4 separate regions of the Homo sapiens genome follow, and regions 1, 2 and 3 are each linked to region 4. Evidence: promoter capture Hi-C in 16 types of primary human blood cells and fetal thymus (Javierre and others, 2016). All regions are on one chromosome and are shown on one strand. The core of a region is centred on a gene start or on the middle of the fragment in contact, and the rest is flanking DNA. Distances in the headings are between cores, read along the strand shown. Region 1 overlaps DHX35 (DEAH-box helicase 35). Region 2 has its middle 94 kb from the start of DHX35. Region 3 overlaps DHX35 (DEAH-box helicase 35). Region 4 holds the start of ADIG (adipogenin).

The links. The method cuts DNA at HindIII sites, captures the fragments that hold promoters and counts their contacts. A CHiCAGO score of 5 or more calls a contact.
Region 1: a fragment that was not itself captured here is called in contact with the fragment with the promoter of ADIG in region 4 in 1 of 17 cell types (naive B cells); the score reaches 5.3 in naive B cells.
Region 2: a contact is called between a fragment that was not itself captured here and the fragment with the promoter of ADIG in region 4, in 1 of 17 cell types (naive B cells). The highest score is 6.8, in naive B cells.
Region 3: a contact is called between a fragment that was not itself captured here and the fragment with the promoter of ADIG in region 4, in 1 of 17 cell types (naive B cells). The highest score is 5.7, in naive B cells.

The regions. Positions count from the first base shown.
Region 1 is chr20:38,994,309-38,997,930 of GRCh38, reverse strand. DHX35 (DEAH-box helicase 35) reads right to left here. Exons shown (of 22, transcript NM_021931.4): 8 at 3,051-3,110. Among named protein-coding and RNA genes, the nearest start is that of DHX35, 34 kb to the right of the region's middle. The HindIII fragment of the contact is 2,149 bases long and covers 1,236-3,384 here.
Region 2 is chr20:39,054,313-39,057,652 of GRCh38, reverse strand. No RefSeq gene overlaps it. Among named protein-coding and RNA genes, the nearest start is that of DHX35, 94 kb to the right of the region's middle. The HindIII fragment of the contact is 2,192 bases long and covers 236-2,427 here.
Region 3 is chr20:39,031,028-39,034,281 of GRCh38, reverse strand. It overlaps DHX35 (DEAH-box helicase 35), which reads right to left. Exons shown (of 22, transcript NM_021931.4): 21 at 1-76. Among named protein-coding and RNA genes, the nearest start is that of DHX35, 70 kb to the right of the region's middle. The HindIII fragment of the contact is 9,869 bases long and covers 1-3,254 here.
Region 4 is chr20:38,578,925-38,582,572 of GRCh38, reverse strand. It overlaps ADIG (adipogenin), which reads right to left and starts at 1,376. Exons shown (of 3, transcript NM_001393816.1): 1 at 1,199-1,376. The coding sequence starts at 1,322. The HindIII fragment of the contact is 6,378 bases long and covers 1-2,146 here.

The sequences.
Region 1 (3,622 bases), core at 1,061-3,560, 410 kb before region 4:
TGTCACCCACAGACCCAGCCGCTGGGGGGCAGGGGATGAGTTCTGGACTTCCCTACGCCTCTAGATCAAAATGTTTCCTAAGCCACACCCAACCCCCCTGCCACTCCCACATAGTCCTCATTCTTGCCCTCTTTCGCCCACTTATATCCTCTTTCTTTCTTTCACTCACATACGAACTCACATCCCATACCTCACGTAGGCCCCTCACACACGGACCCACAACCCACACAGAGATGACTCACACACACAGATCCCCCATTCACAGACACTTAGAAACCACCGTTCCCCTCACACAGGAGGCACTGGCTGAGCAGCAAGGACAGGATAAGAAGGAATGGCCCAGCTTACCAGAGGTCCAGCATGTCCCGTACCACAGCAGAGCAAGGCATGACAAAGTTCCTACATGCTGTCTTCCCGCTTACAAAATTGCTTCCAGAAAGTCATCTATATCAACTACCATAGACAGAACTGAAAGAAGCTATTTTTTTCATCTCTGTGTTCCACCAAGACAATAAAAGGCAATTGTGAACAATTAGTAAGTATTAATTAACAATGAATCTGGCCAGGCGTGGTGGTTCATGCCTGTAAATCCAGCACTTTGGGAGTCCAAGGCGGGAGGATCACCTGAGGTCCGGAGTTTGAGACCAGCCTGGCCAACATGATGAGACCCCATCTCTACTAAAAATACAAAAATTAACCAGGCATGGTGGCTCATGCCTGCAGTCCCAGCTACTTGGGAGGCTGAAGCACGAGAATCACTTGAACCTGGGAAGCAGAGGTTGCAGTGAGCTGAGATCACACCACTGTACTCCAGCCTGGGCAAGACAGTGAGACTTGGTGTCAAAAAATAAATAAATAAATAAATAAATAAATAAATAAATAAAATGAATCTAAGAAAAGACTTGGACATTATAGTTTTCAACATAATAAAAACTGGAATAATTTTTAACTTAATTTAATAATTTTTAAGGTGGGGGGTGAAAAAGAGATACAGATGTTCTGTGTAATGTAGCCACAGAGGAGCTAACTAGAGGTGAAGTCAGCCACAGTCCACAAAATAGCATGCCAGCAGATACCATGGGTGAGGGAGATGACAATTAAACAGGGCAACAGAGGAGCTTTAACCCAAAAGTTACCATGGGCAGACCTAAAACAACAGACTCCTACAGCCTGTGGAAAGGTCTGAGAAACCAGTCTCGGGACACGTTGGACATTTACCTTCGCTATGGTAAGCTTTCTCTCTCTCCAAGTTGTTCTGTATCCCAGAAGCCACAGGGAGACTAGGAGCCAGGAGCCAGGGACCACATCTCACCTGGATTTCAGAACTGGCCTCCTTACTAGAGACTCCATATCTACTCTCATCTCCTATACACAGCACTCAGAATGATCTTTATAGAGCTCAAACATGATGAAGTCACTGCCCTCTCTCACATGTTCCCATGGCTCCCAACCAGATACAGGATGGAGTTCATCCTCTCTGGCTGAGCCTCTAAGGCTTTCCGTCATCTGACCCCAACCTCCCCATTTTAATCTTCCATTACTTCCCAGTCAGTCAAAATTCATTCAACCCAAGTGCCTACTCTGTGCTAGACATTGTTTTAGGTGGAAGAGATAAAATAAGACAAAGTCCTGATCTTCATGGAGCTTATATTTTAGTGACAGGAGACACACAATAAACAATGCATATAATGTTAAATAGTGATAGACAAGTGAGAAACATAAAAAAAATCAGAATAAGGGAATAAAGAGCAACTGGGGTGCTGTTTTAGAGAGCGCCTCTCTGAGGAGATAATAAATGCTCAAAACTGGAATGAAATTAGGAGAGAACCTTAGGCTGTCCGGGGAAGGAATGGTCTAAAAAGAGGGTTCCTCCAGAGCAGAAGCATGCCTGGGTTGTTTTGAGGAACAGCAAGGAGACCAGTGAGGCTGAAATGTAGGGAGCACTGGAGAAAGTGGAAGAAGATAAAGTCAGAGAGGGAGTTCAAGGGTAATTCACCCATGAGGGCCTGGCAGGTAAGATAAGACTCGAAGCTCCATGAACTCATGGTCATGTCCCTGTGATTTCACTTATATTTAGGGTGCCCTTCCCCACCTTCATCCATCTGGAAAACGGCTGTCCATCTTTCAAGCACAGCTGGTAGGTCACCACCTCTGCGAAAGTTTCTGGACACCCCCCAGCTGGCTGGAGTTAAGGGCTCCCTCCTTAGCTGCCTCAGAACTTTGAACACACTGAACTGCAAACATCTATTTCTGCATGTAAATATAGTAAGTGGTCAAAAGTATTTGTTGAGTTGAGCTGCTGTTTAAACTATAGGTCCACAAGAGAGAAAAATAATGTAAACCTAGCCACAGAAAACTTTAACATGGAAATTATTATATATACAGGAGAAACTTTTTTTTTTTTTTGAGATGAAGTTTTGCTCTTGTTGCCCAAGCTGGAGTGCAATGGAGCGATCTCAGCTCACTGCAACCTCTGCCTCCCAGTTTCAAGCAATTCTCCTGCCTCAGCCTCCCAAGTAGCTGGGATTATAGGCATGTACTACTACGCCCAGCTAATTTTGCATTTTTAGTAGAGACGGGGTTTCACCATGTTGGCCAGGCTGGCCTCAAACTCCTGACCTCAAGTGATCCACCCACCTCAGCCTCCCAAAGTGCTGGGATTACAGGTGTGAGCCACCGTGCCCAGCCCAGGAGAAACTTCAATTGCACAGAAAAATCTAAATCTATACAGTATAGTCATAAATAAACAAATTCAAGAAATACAGGCTTATACTGAAAAAACAACAAAAAGAAGCTGTGTAAGTGGGGAGAAAGACAGTATGTAGATAAACAAGACAGGTAGGTAATTATGAGCTCAATTAATTACAGTCTAATTTCACAAGCTGAAAAGGAGTAACCTCTGATTATATGAAATCTAGGACATCAGATGGTCCCATAAAGAAGATAGGGCATTCTGCCAAAGATAAGCTCTTGCTAGAGGTAACTTCCCAAGGATATATAGGACAAAAGTGTTTGTGAGGAGAGGAGGAAAGGGGAGGCAAGGCTCTTACGTCTGCATCCAGAGTGGCTGAAGCTACAATCAATCGAAGATCCCCTCGCTTTTTCTGAATCTAAAAAAGAAGACATTTGGAAATAATGATAATAGTGCAACACTTATGGATGAGATCATTTGATATCTGAAATGTATTTCAAAAATTCAGTGTCTTTTTTTTTCTTTTTTGCCTGAGGAGGAGGTAAGGGAGCTTACAGATGAAAGGACTGACTACAAATTAATAATTGTCAATAAAGGGGGGGGGGGGTCATTACACTATTACTTCCAATTTTGTAAATGTATGCAATTTTCCAAAGTAAATTTTTTTAAATTATAAAAACTATAAAGAAGCTTTAAGACCCAAATTTGAATTTACTGAGAATAAAACCATTTTTTCCTGACACCTGGGTCTCAAGATAGTTTGAATCTATGTATGAAAAAGTATATTAAAAGCAAACAAACAATAAATGATAACACCAAGACAGAAATATGGCAAAAAAAAAAGAGATAAAAGATATTAACAGTTACTCAAAGAAACACATAATCAACAGGCATTGGAGAAGTGACCAAATGAGCTACAGCTAAGATATA
Region 2 (3,340 bases), core at 82-2,581, 480 kb before region 4:
ATCAGTAATGGGGTACTCACACCTCCCCAGTGCAGCCCACTCCATCCCTGAACCCCCTGACTGTACGGAGCCCTTTTCCTAAGGACCTAGAAGCTCAGAGGAAAGCTCACATTCCTCCAGGGACACAGAGTGAGTAGGGTCCCTCTTCCACATGACAACCCTCATTTCTTTGAGGACGGCATCCTACCCCCCAGTATGAGTTCCCCAGGGCTGCCGTACCAAATGGCCACAAGCTTGGTGATGTCAAACAACAGACATTTCTCCTTCTCACACAGTTCTGAGAAGGAGGGCAGTCCAAAATAGAGGTGTTGGCCGGATTGGTTCCTCCTGGAGGGTCCGAGAGAGAACCTGTCCCATGCCTGTCTCTGAGCTCCTGCAGCCGCCCGCAGTCTTTGGCATTTCCGGCTTGCAGCTGCACCTCTCCAGTCTCTGCCTCTGTCTCCACAGCAGCTTCTCCTCTGTCTATGTCTTTTCCTCTTCTGCATTTAGGGCTTACCCAGATAATCCCAAATGATCTCATCTTAAGATCCTTAGTTTAACTGCATCTGCAAGAACTCCTTTTATCTTTTTTTTTCTTGTTCTTTTTTCTTTTCTTTTTTTTTTTTTCTTTTTTTTGAGACAGAGTTTCACCCTGCCGCCCAGGCTGGAGTGCAGTGGCACAATCTCAGCTCACTGCAACCTCCACCTCCCAGATTCAAGCAATTCTCCTGCCTCAGTCTCCCAAGTAGCTGGGATTACAAGCATGTACCACTAAACCTGGCTAATTTTTGTATTTTTAGTAGAGACAGGGTTTCACCATGTTGGCCAGGCTGGTCTCAAACTCCTGACCTCAGGATATCTGCCTGCCTTGGCCTCCCAAAGTGCTGGGATTACAGGTTTGAGCCACTGTGCTTGGCCATTCCTTTTTCAAAAAAAAAAAAAAAAAAAAAGGCTACATTCACAAGTTCTCAGTGGACATATCTTTTGGGGCAAATTATTCAACTCAACGCACCCTCTAAGTTTTCTATTCTTCCGACAGAATGGTCTCAGTCCTCCTGCCATTCCTCAGATGGTGAAATGTCAAGGCTGCTCTATTCCCACTGGTACTGATGCGATGTACCCAATTGTCCCAAATACCAGCAGACATATCTCCATCTCTCCCACCAAAATGTCACACAAACACTTGTCAAGAGCCAGCTGAAGTTTCAAAACACTCTTCATCAAATTTCCTTGAGCTACAAGGGGCAGCATTAAGAAAAGAAAGCACTCAGGCCCACTTAGTTCTGCCGTTGACTGTGGTGAGCTTTTCCACTACTCTGAGCCTTGGTTTCCTTGTCTGAAACATAGGGACAATCATACCCAACTCATATATCAATGCTCCAAGCTCTCGAATAATCTCTTGTCTCACCTTAGGCTTCACATTCTTCTTAGCAAGGCCCTTCCCAGTTCAGACTCCCTGTATCGTCCCCACTCCACTGCCTCTGCCCTTTCAAGACCCTTGGCCCCTTCCTGGGCTATATCTGCTGTAGTGTCCTGGTTACAGTGCTACTGATTGAAGAAACAGAGGCCCAGACAAGCTCATACTCACAAACAGAGGCTGGTCCAAGACCAGCAAACAAAGCACAGATGGCCTCATGGCCCAATGCAACTGCCTTCACCCCTGCACCTACACCAATGCTTCCCAACGTTCTTCACATTATGGCACACAGAGAATGTGATAAAATCCGTAAGATTCACTGGGTACACAAATGAAGCTGCTCTGGTCCAAAGGTCCCAGCCTGGGGGCTCCACCAGGGCCAGACCTCCCCAGCCTCTTACCAAAGGCAGAGGGGATCTGTACCCCAGCATCTTTGGAGCCCATCTGCCATCCACCTTCAGGGCAAACACAGTGACCTGAGTGTCTGTGTCACCCAGTCCTCCAGAAGAGGAACTCAATTGGTCCTTTGCCAGCCTTGGACCTGAGAGTTCCCCTCCCAGAGAGATTTCCCCAAAATTGACTGAGAGCCAGTGCAACAGAAAGAGTTAAGGAGTCTACTTAAGATGTGAAATTAGCATGTCTACCAGTACCTATAGTTTCTGAGTTTTTTTGTTTTTTGTTGAGACAGGGTCTCGCTCTGTCATCCAGGCTGGAGCACAGCAACACGATCATAGCTCACTGCAGCTTCAAACTTCTGAGCTCAAGTGATCCTCCCGCCTCAATTCCCAAAGTGCGGGGATGACAGGCATGAGCCACCGTGCCTGGCCAGTCGCTGGGATTATCATTGCTGATATTCCTTAAGGAAGAAGGCGAGGGAAGTAAATGGGGGAGACACCGAAGATAATGTGCTGGATGCAGAATTCAGACATTGAAGAGGACAAGAGAAGACGTTTCTTCTTGGTCACTCTCATAACAGTTTCACTGGTCCTTAGGGTGGAGGGGTAGGGAATTACTACCAGAACAAGGAAGCTTATGGCTTTTTGTTTTCATAGTATACACCACGCTTAGGATACAGTCATTATGTTGAGCACCCACTAAGCCTTGGGCACTCTGCATGCATCATCCCCTCCCCCATATCAACCTCTCCTAGACCCAATACAGTTCACTGAGGGTGCAACCCTAAGCAAGGCAGGCCAGCCCTGCCCTCCGAGAGCTTCGCCTCTCAGGGAGCAGACCAAAAGGTGCAAATAAGCACATTGATAAGGCTGATATGGATTAAATGGCTTTATCATGTATTGTTATCTATATTGTACACTATATATTATTTATTTACATATAGTTAGCATCCATGTAGCTAAAAATAATAACATAATAAAGCAGAGCAAGAGTATTGAGAATGCAAGGGGTATTATTTTAGGTAAGATAGCAGGAAAGACCCCTCTGAGGAAAGGATATTTGAACAGAGATCTAAAGGATTGAAAGTGGGAGCCAAAGAGAGAGCTACAGGGAGAGCATGCCAGGTGGAGGGAACAGCAAATACAAAGGATCAGATTAGAATGTGCAGAAGAATTACTCAAGACATTTTTTTAAATGCAGATCCCTTGGCCCCTAGACTCAGAGATTCTGGTTCAGTAGATCTGGGAGGCACCCAGGAATTTCCATTTTTATATATCTCCAGTGATTCCAATGCAGGTGTTTCAATGACCACATTTTAAGAAAATATAGTTTTATATTTCTCCCATGGTTTCGATCCTTGATCATTCTCAATGACTTTGTTCTGTGCTTTTATAAAACCAAAAAGGCTTTGGGGGTTTAAGGTCTACACACCATAAAGTCAGAGCCTGGTATATCCTCCCAGCCCCTTCCAATGCATCCATGCACCCTTCAGCAATCAAGAGAGCAGATGATTCCCAGCCAGGGGATCTTGGGGGAGGGATCTTGGGG
Region 3 (3,254 bases), core at 213-2,712, 450 kb before region 4:
CAGCCAGGCCGATTCAATGGCAGTCACATCTCTCATGTAGTACTTGGAGGTCTGTATAACTTCGTTATAGATGACCCTGAAATGAGAAAGAAACATGAGCTAATTTCCCCCTCTTGTGATGACAGTCAGGAACCACAGGTAGACATGCTGTTTCCTTTAACCTTTAACAGGTTCTACTCTATGTGCCAGACACTGTGCTAAACACATGCATTTATGTTGCTCACCACAGCCTCAAGACCTAAGTGCTGGGTAATGGTGTGTCCATTTTTCAGATGAGACTCTAAATCCTCAATGACTTCTGGAACATCTCAGTTATCCGCGAAGGACCTTTCTGGATCCTTCATCTGCATTTACAGAACTCTGAACTGAGCCTAATGACTTTATTAGAAAATGCAGAAATGGAGGCAAAGACTTGCCTGATTCTGAAAGAGGCTGGGAACTGACTGTAAAGAGACACAAAGGAATTTTCTAAAATGATAACAATATTGTATAATTTATGTGGGTCCAGGTTACATGGGTATACACATTTGTCAAAACTCATCTTGCACTGTAAATAAATTATACCTTTATTTAAGGGAAAAAATGTTTCTAAGGCTCAGGTAATAGACAACCGAAGAGCCAAGAGCATAACATCCAGTCCCCTGATTTTAGGTGTGCATATGAGTAGATATCAGTTTCTGAAACATCCAAAGTGTTAATTCAGGGCTTCCCATGTTATAAACATACCAGCCATACTGTGGTTCCCCACCCCTCAAAAACCAGTAAGTGAATCTCAGCTGATCAAAGGAAAAAGAAGGGCCCCCCCTGCAAAGAGGCCGTGACTGGGGGGCACTTTCTTTGCCACCTGAATGGTATGGCATGGCTTCAGGCTGGCTCTATTTCCCCAACCTTTCTTTGCCCTTCAGAGCTCCTTAGGAATGAAGCAAGAAAAAGAAAAGCCTTTCTCCTTTAAGCAACTCCCAAATTTAACCACCCAAAAGTCAGCAAAAAAAGGATCTAAAATTGAGGTTTTGCATCTCTCTTGATTTAAAAAAAAAAATTTTTTAAAGGCAGGGTCTCGCTCTGTCACCCAGGCTAGAGTGCAGTGGTGCAATCATGGCTCACTGAAGCCTGAATCTCCTGGGCTCAAGCGATCCTCCTGTCTCAGTCTCCTGAGTAGCTAGTACTACAGCCACGTGCCACCATGCCTGGCTCATTTTTTTTTTGAGAGTTGAGGTCTGGCTATGGCACCCAGGCTGGTATTGAACTCCTGACCTCAAGCAATCCTCTGGCCTCAGCCTCTCAAAAGTGCTGAGATGACAGGCGTGGGCACTCTTCAAATTATCCTGCACACGAGTGTGCGTATCCTGACCACATTAGTGTGGTCACTGGGTAACATTTCTAAACCCAGAACCGACCAAGGTGCTTTCAACCTAAGCAACTTCTAGGTCTGCAGTGGCTACAGGATAAATCCGATTCCTTGGTCTAGGGAAACAGAACTCAAACTTTACTGCCCAAAAGAAACATCTGGAGGGCTTGTTAAAATGGAGTCCTAGGCCCTAGTCCAGTTTCTGATTGAATGGGACTTGGCATGGCCTGAGAAGCTGCATTTCGTACAAGTTTCCAGGTGATACTGATGCTGGGCTGGAGACCACATTTTGAAAGCTGCAATTCTAGGGTACAAAGTGTTTGACCACAGACTTTCTTGCCTTCAAATCTACCGCTATCTTCTCTCCCTCTCTTCACACACACCCCACCCTTTTTCCCAGGGCTTCTCCATCTTCCAATTGGAGAAGGACAAGTTGTTGTCGTCTTTAAAATTTCCAATCTGGGCCAGGCACAGTGGCTCACGCCTGTAATCCCAGCACTTTGGGAGGCTGAGGTGGGCAGATCACCTGAGGTCAGGAGTTTGAGACCAGCCTGGCCAACACGGCAAAACCCCGTCTCTACTAAAAATACAAAAATTAGCTGGGCATGGTTGCATGCACCTGTAATCCCAGCTACTCAGGAGGCTGAGGCAGGAGAATCACTTGAACCCCGAAGGTGGAGATTGAAGTGAGCCAAGATCACACCACTGGGCAACAGATTGAGACACTGTCTCAAAAACACAGAGTGAGACACTGTCTCAAAAAAACAAAATCCAATCCATGGTTGATCAGTACTTTTAATCAGTACTTTTTATTGGTAAAATACAATATAAATGAATTCTAGAAAAATGAAATTGTAAACAAGAAAAATATAAGCCCCCAATTTTTATTATTAAATTGGACAAACATAAACTTAACCATTGAAATGTTATAAAGATGTCTAAAGGCCTACTCTAGACTTCTGTGCTTACCTCTTTCTTCCTAGGCAGTGTTACAGAGCAGCACCATTGCATGGGCCACCCATACCAATGATTCCCCACTTCCCAAACGCATGAGGTTCCTTTATGTTCCATGGCTCTGCCCCTGCTACTTCTCTACCTAGAATACCCTCCGGGTCCTTTCTGACTGAACACTCTTGTTTCCAGGTTCAGAATGAATGTTATCTCCTCCATGAAGCCTGCCCTGACTCTCACTGGCACATGATGTGCTGAGCCCAGCACTTCATCCATGCTGCTAGTAAAGCCCTTCCCCTAAGGTAGTTGACTCTGTGTCTGTCCCTATGTCAAAACTGTGGGCTGGGGCCGGGTACAGTGGCTCATGCCTGTAATCCCAGAGCTTTGGGAGGCCGAGGTGGGTGGATCACCTGAGGTCAGGAGTTGGAGACCAGCCTGGCCAACACAGTGAAACCCCATCTCCACTAAAAATACAAAAATTAGCCAGGCGTGATTGCACACATCTATAGTCTCAGCTACTCAGGTGGCTGAGGCAGGAGAATCACGTGGACCTGGGAGGCAGAGGTTGCAGTGAGCCAAGATAGCGCCGTCACTGCACTCCAGCCTGGGCGACAGAGCGAAACTCTGTCTCAAAAAAAAAAAAAAAAAAGAACCGTGAGCTGGGATCCCAATTCATCTCTGCATAGCTGTGCCTCATGCAGGGCTAAGCATCCAGTCAGTGGTTGAAAATGAACGTTTGCTGAGTGGATGAGTGAGTAGACAAATATCACTGTTTGCTTAAGAAGCTCTTTGCCAGAGCAGAAATTCTCTTTTTTTTTTTTGACATGGAATCTCACTCTGTCACCCAGGCTAGAGTGCAGTGGTGTGATCTCAGCTCACTGCAACCTCTGCCTCCCAGGTTCAAGCAATTCTCCTGCCTCAGCCTCCCGAGTAGCTCAGATTACAGACGTGCCCA
Region 4 (3,648 bases), core at 127-2,626:
CCTACATTTGAGATCATGGGGCTAGCAGGGGTGTGGGGAGGGACTTCTCACCCTGCCTCAACAACATCTGACCATTGCTGGCGGCATGTGCTGCGCCCTCCCTGCCTAGCTTGCCAAAGGTCATGGCACTCAGCAGCAGGAGGTAGGAGGTCAAGTGGTCCCCACGAAGAGGCCTTTTTTTGACACAGGGTCTCACTCTGTCTGCTGGAATACAGTGGTGTGATCTCGGCTCACTGCAGCCTCGACCTCCCAGGCTCAAGCAATTCTCCCACCTCAGCCTCCTCAGTAGCTGGGACCACAGATGCATGCCACCACACCTGGCTAATTTTTGTATTCCTTGTAGGGACGTTGCCCAGCCTGGTCTCAAACTCCTGGGCTCAAGCAACCTGGCCACCTTGGCTTCCCAAAGTGCTGGGATTACAGGTGTGAGCCACTGTGTCCAGCAGGAAGAGACCTCTTGCTGAAGGGGATGCTCAGGGAGACACATGCCAGAGGAGCAGAAGTCCCACTCCTGCCACACAGCCAGGCCATATCCTGATCCAGCCACCCCCAGCTTCCTCCACAGCCAGCTTCGTCCCACCTCTTGCTCCTCTTGGTGGCATGCTGAGGTCAGGGTGAATGTCAGCTGGCTTCCATGAGCCTGTCTCCCAAAGCAGCCAGATCCTTTCTGATACATGGCTTAGGCAGAAACAGTGAGTGGTCTGCAGGTATCTGAAAAATGCCTAAGGCTGCTGTATCCCATCGTGCAAGCTGTTTACTGCACAAAAGCAGCCAATTGAGAGGGTGAGCGGGGCTGAAATCCAGCCCACGCTCTGCTCACAGAGCCTTGCACCCCAGCTGAAAGGGGCACCTGGAAGTTCATCTGCCTGGAGCGATAACCTCTGATTTGTTCAAAAGATCACTCTCGAACTCTAGGTTCAAACTCTAGGACTCACTCTCAAACTCTAGGTTCAAACTCTAGGACTCACTCTCGAACTCTAGGTTCAAACTCTAGGACTCACTCTCGAACTCTAGGTTAAGAAACCCTAAACAACCAAACCAATCCTTTCCACTTAAGAGTTGACTGCTTGTATCTAAGCGAGCACTTAAAATGACTGAAGGAAGCCCCTTCTGCAGTTGTTTCAGGACACACTGGCCTATTTGGCCCCCTGCCTAGCTCCAGGATTAGGGTCCTGCCTGGACGGGGTAAGAAGCTCACCTTGGCTAAGTAAGAAGCGTAGCCAGATGATCAATAACAACAGCAAACCCACAGGGAGGCAGAACCAGAAAACCAGGAAAGAAAATGTGAGGTCGTTCACCAGCGGCATCAAAGGGTACTTCATGGCGCATGTGTGGCTAAGCTGGGCCAGCCTGGGCTGGGCTGGCAGGGCTGCCCCATGGGACCTGGCAGGCTGGGCCATGCTCTGCTCTCAGCCCAACTGTGACTAAGCTGTGACATAACAAAGAAGTCACAGTGTACTTCAGGCAAAGCATGCAGGGGACACTTTGAGGGAGAGCTGTTCTGGATGAAAGGGTGGGAAGTGAGGCAGTGAGACAGACAGTCTGGCTGAGAATTAAAAAGCCCAGGTTTCCAGGCAGGCCTGGGCTTGAATCTCAGTCCAGTAGCTATTGGGTTCATGACACCCCTCTGACCCTTTTTCTTGTAAGATGGAGATAATTCTGTTAAGTTAGAAAAATAGATGGGACAAAAATTACCCCCAGGATCGGTGTTCATATATCTGAAGTCACAGACCCCCTCCAGGAGCCAGCTGGGTCCCCAGGTCCTGTAATACCAGCTGTGGGTGCCCACGTCCACACTTGGTGGGGGTGCTGGGGACTGCGGCAAACTGGATGCAGCTTACTGCATCCTAAGCATGCAGTGATGGCAGCTCCAACCAATAACTGCTACAAGTGAAATGCAGGTCCATTATTGCAGGACTCCTAACTTTCCCAAGACAGGCAAAAAGTCTGGATTTCTGTGAAATCTCCCAAGTTTAAAATGTCGGATCAGACCTTGTCAAAGCACTGTTGGCTAAACAAAACGTCTGCCAGGCTGGATTGGTCACTGGGCTGCCACTGAAAACTTTTAAAATCTAACACATAGTAGATTATTCTAATTATTACTAGATTAAATGACTATAAATGATTATTACTTAATCTGAAAGCTTGTGCCTCTCCTTATTAGGGTTTTCAGTGAGGGGCTTCTAACGACTTGAATCTTGTTCCTTTATCTCCTGAGTGGCCAGAACACTTCCACATGTCATCCTCATCTTCTCCTATCTGTCATCCGTTCACTCATCAAGTATTCAGTAAACCTCCATGTGCCAGACCATGGCAGAAAGGAGGCTTCGGGCTTCCCACTGGAGTGGCTGCTGCATGGTATTCTCCAAGAGGACCCTTGGACCACCTGCCTGTGACTGCCAGCAGGTGGGTGGGTGCTGGAGTGTATTTATTAAACATGCCAATTCCCAGGCTCACCTTCGTCTCCTCAGACCTCTTGGGGGTGGGGGTGTGGCTTGGGATTCAACACACTGATAAGCAACTAGAATGATTCTGATGCAGGCTTGATTTTGAGACTACAGCATCTCATGACTTAAAAGCACCTGTTGAAAAGGCAAACCAGGTCCAGGCGGGGGAGCAGCTGCAGGAAGGGGGTGGTAAACTTAGGGAAAAACATGGAGTAGAAAACCCCCTTATAGGAAAAGACACCGATTCAAGGAGAAGGGCGCATGGGGCCAGCAACAGGAAAAAATAAGAGCATGGGAGGGGCTGGGAGAGCTGGGGCATGGTTTCAAGAGTCCTAGCCCAGCTGTGGGAAGGCCAGAATTCCTACAAGAGGAAGTCTGGGAAAATGGACTAGAATGAGTGTCCAAGAGGAGCAGTGCTCTGGCAGGGTGCTCCTGATGCAGGGCCCAGAGGCCAAGAGAAGGAGGAGCAGGTGGTCTGGGTTGGGGGTGATTCCCTGGAACTGGGTCCTGAAGGGGCTGCGGTCAGAGAGAGAGCTGAGCAGCATAGCTGGGAAAGGCTTGAGCACACATTTTTTTTCTGGCTACAAAACCTTTCCAGACACCAAAACAGGGCTACTGTGCAGTCAGCGTCTCTGGCCACTAGGCCCAGCTGGAGGTCCTGTTGTGCGTGGGCAGAGCAGGCAGAACACACAGTGCAAGGTAGGCAGCTCCCAGGCACAGTTCAGAGGGCACACGTCAGCAGCTCTTGGCAGAGGCATGGCCACAATGGTTCTCATGATTGTTTCAAGTGGTCCATTCACTCCACTATGTGTGATCCAGGCCTGAAGGCACTCATCTGGCTCCAAGATGCCCTTCACAAAGGGGGCAGTGGGCGGCAGGGGATGATCTCTGCACCTCCCCCCTTTCCTGACTGTCTAGTCCTACTAGGGCTCAAATTTTCTGCAAGCAGAGGGCACAGCTGGCACTTTCTTGCTCCCGTAACATAAGCATCTATCTCCTCAGCAATTCGCAGCCCCTGAAAGGTGAGCCTCTATTGGCAGTGTTTTAATTATACAAGCTCCTTCCAGCAGAGAAGGCCAAATACTTTTCTTAAAATTAATCAAACTTTGAGTATTTCATGAAATACTCATTTAATGTTCATTTAAACTACAGATCTAAATTATAAAGGGCAGCCAAAGCCGAGCAGACATCCCCTGAAAGG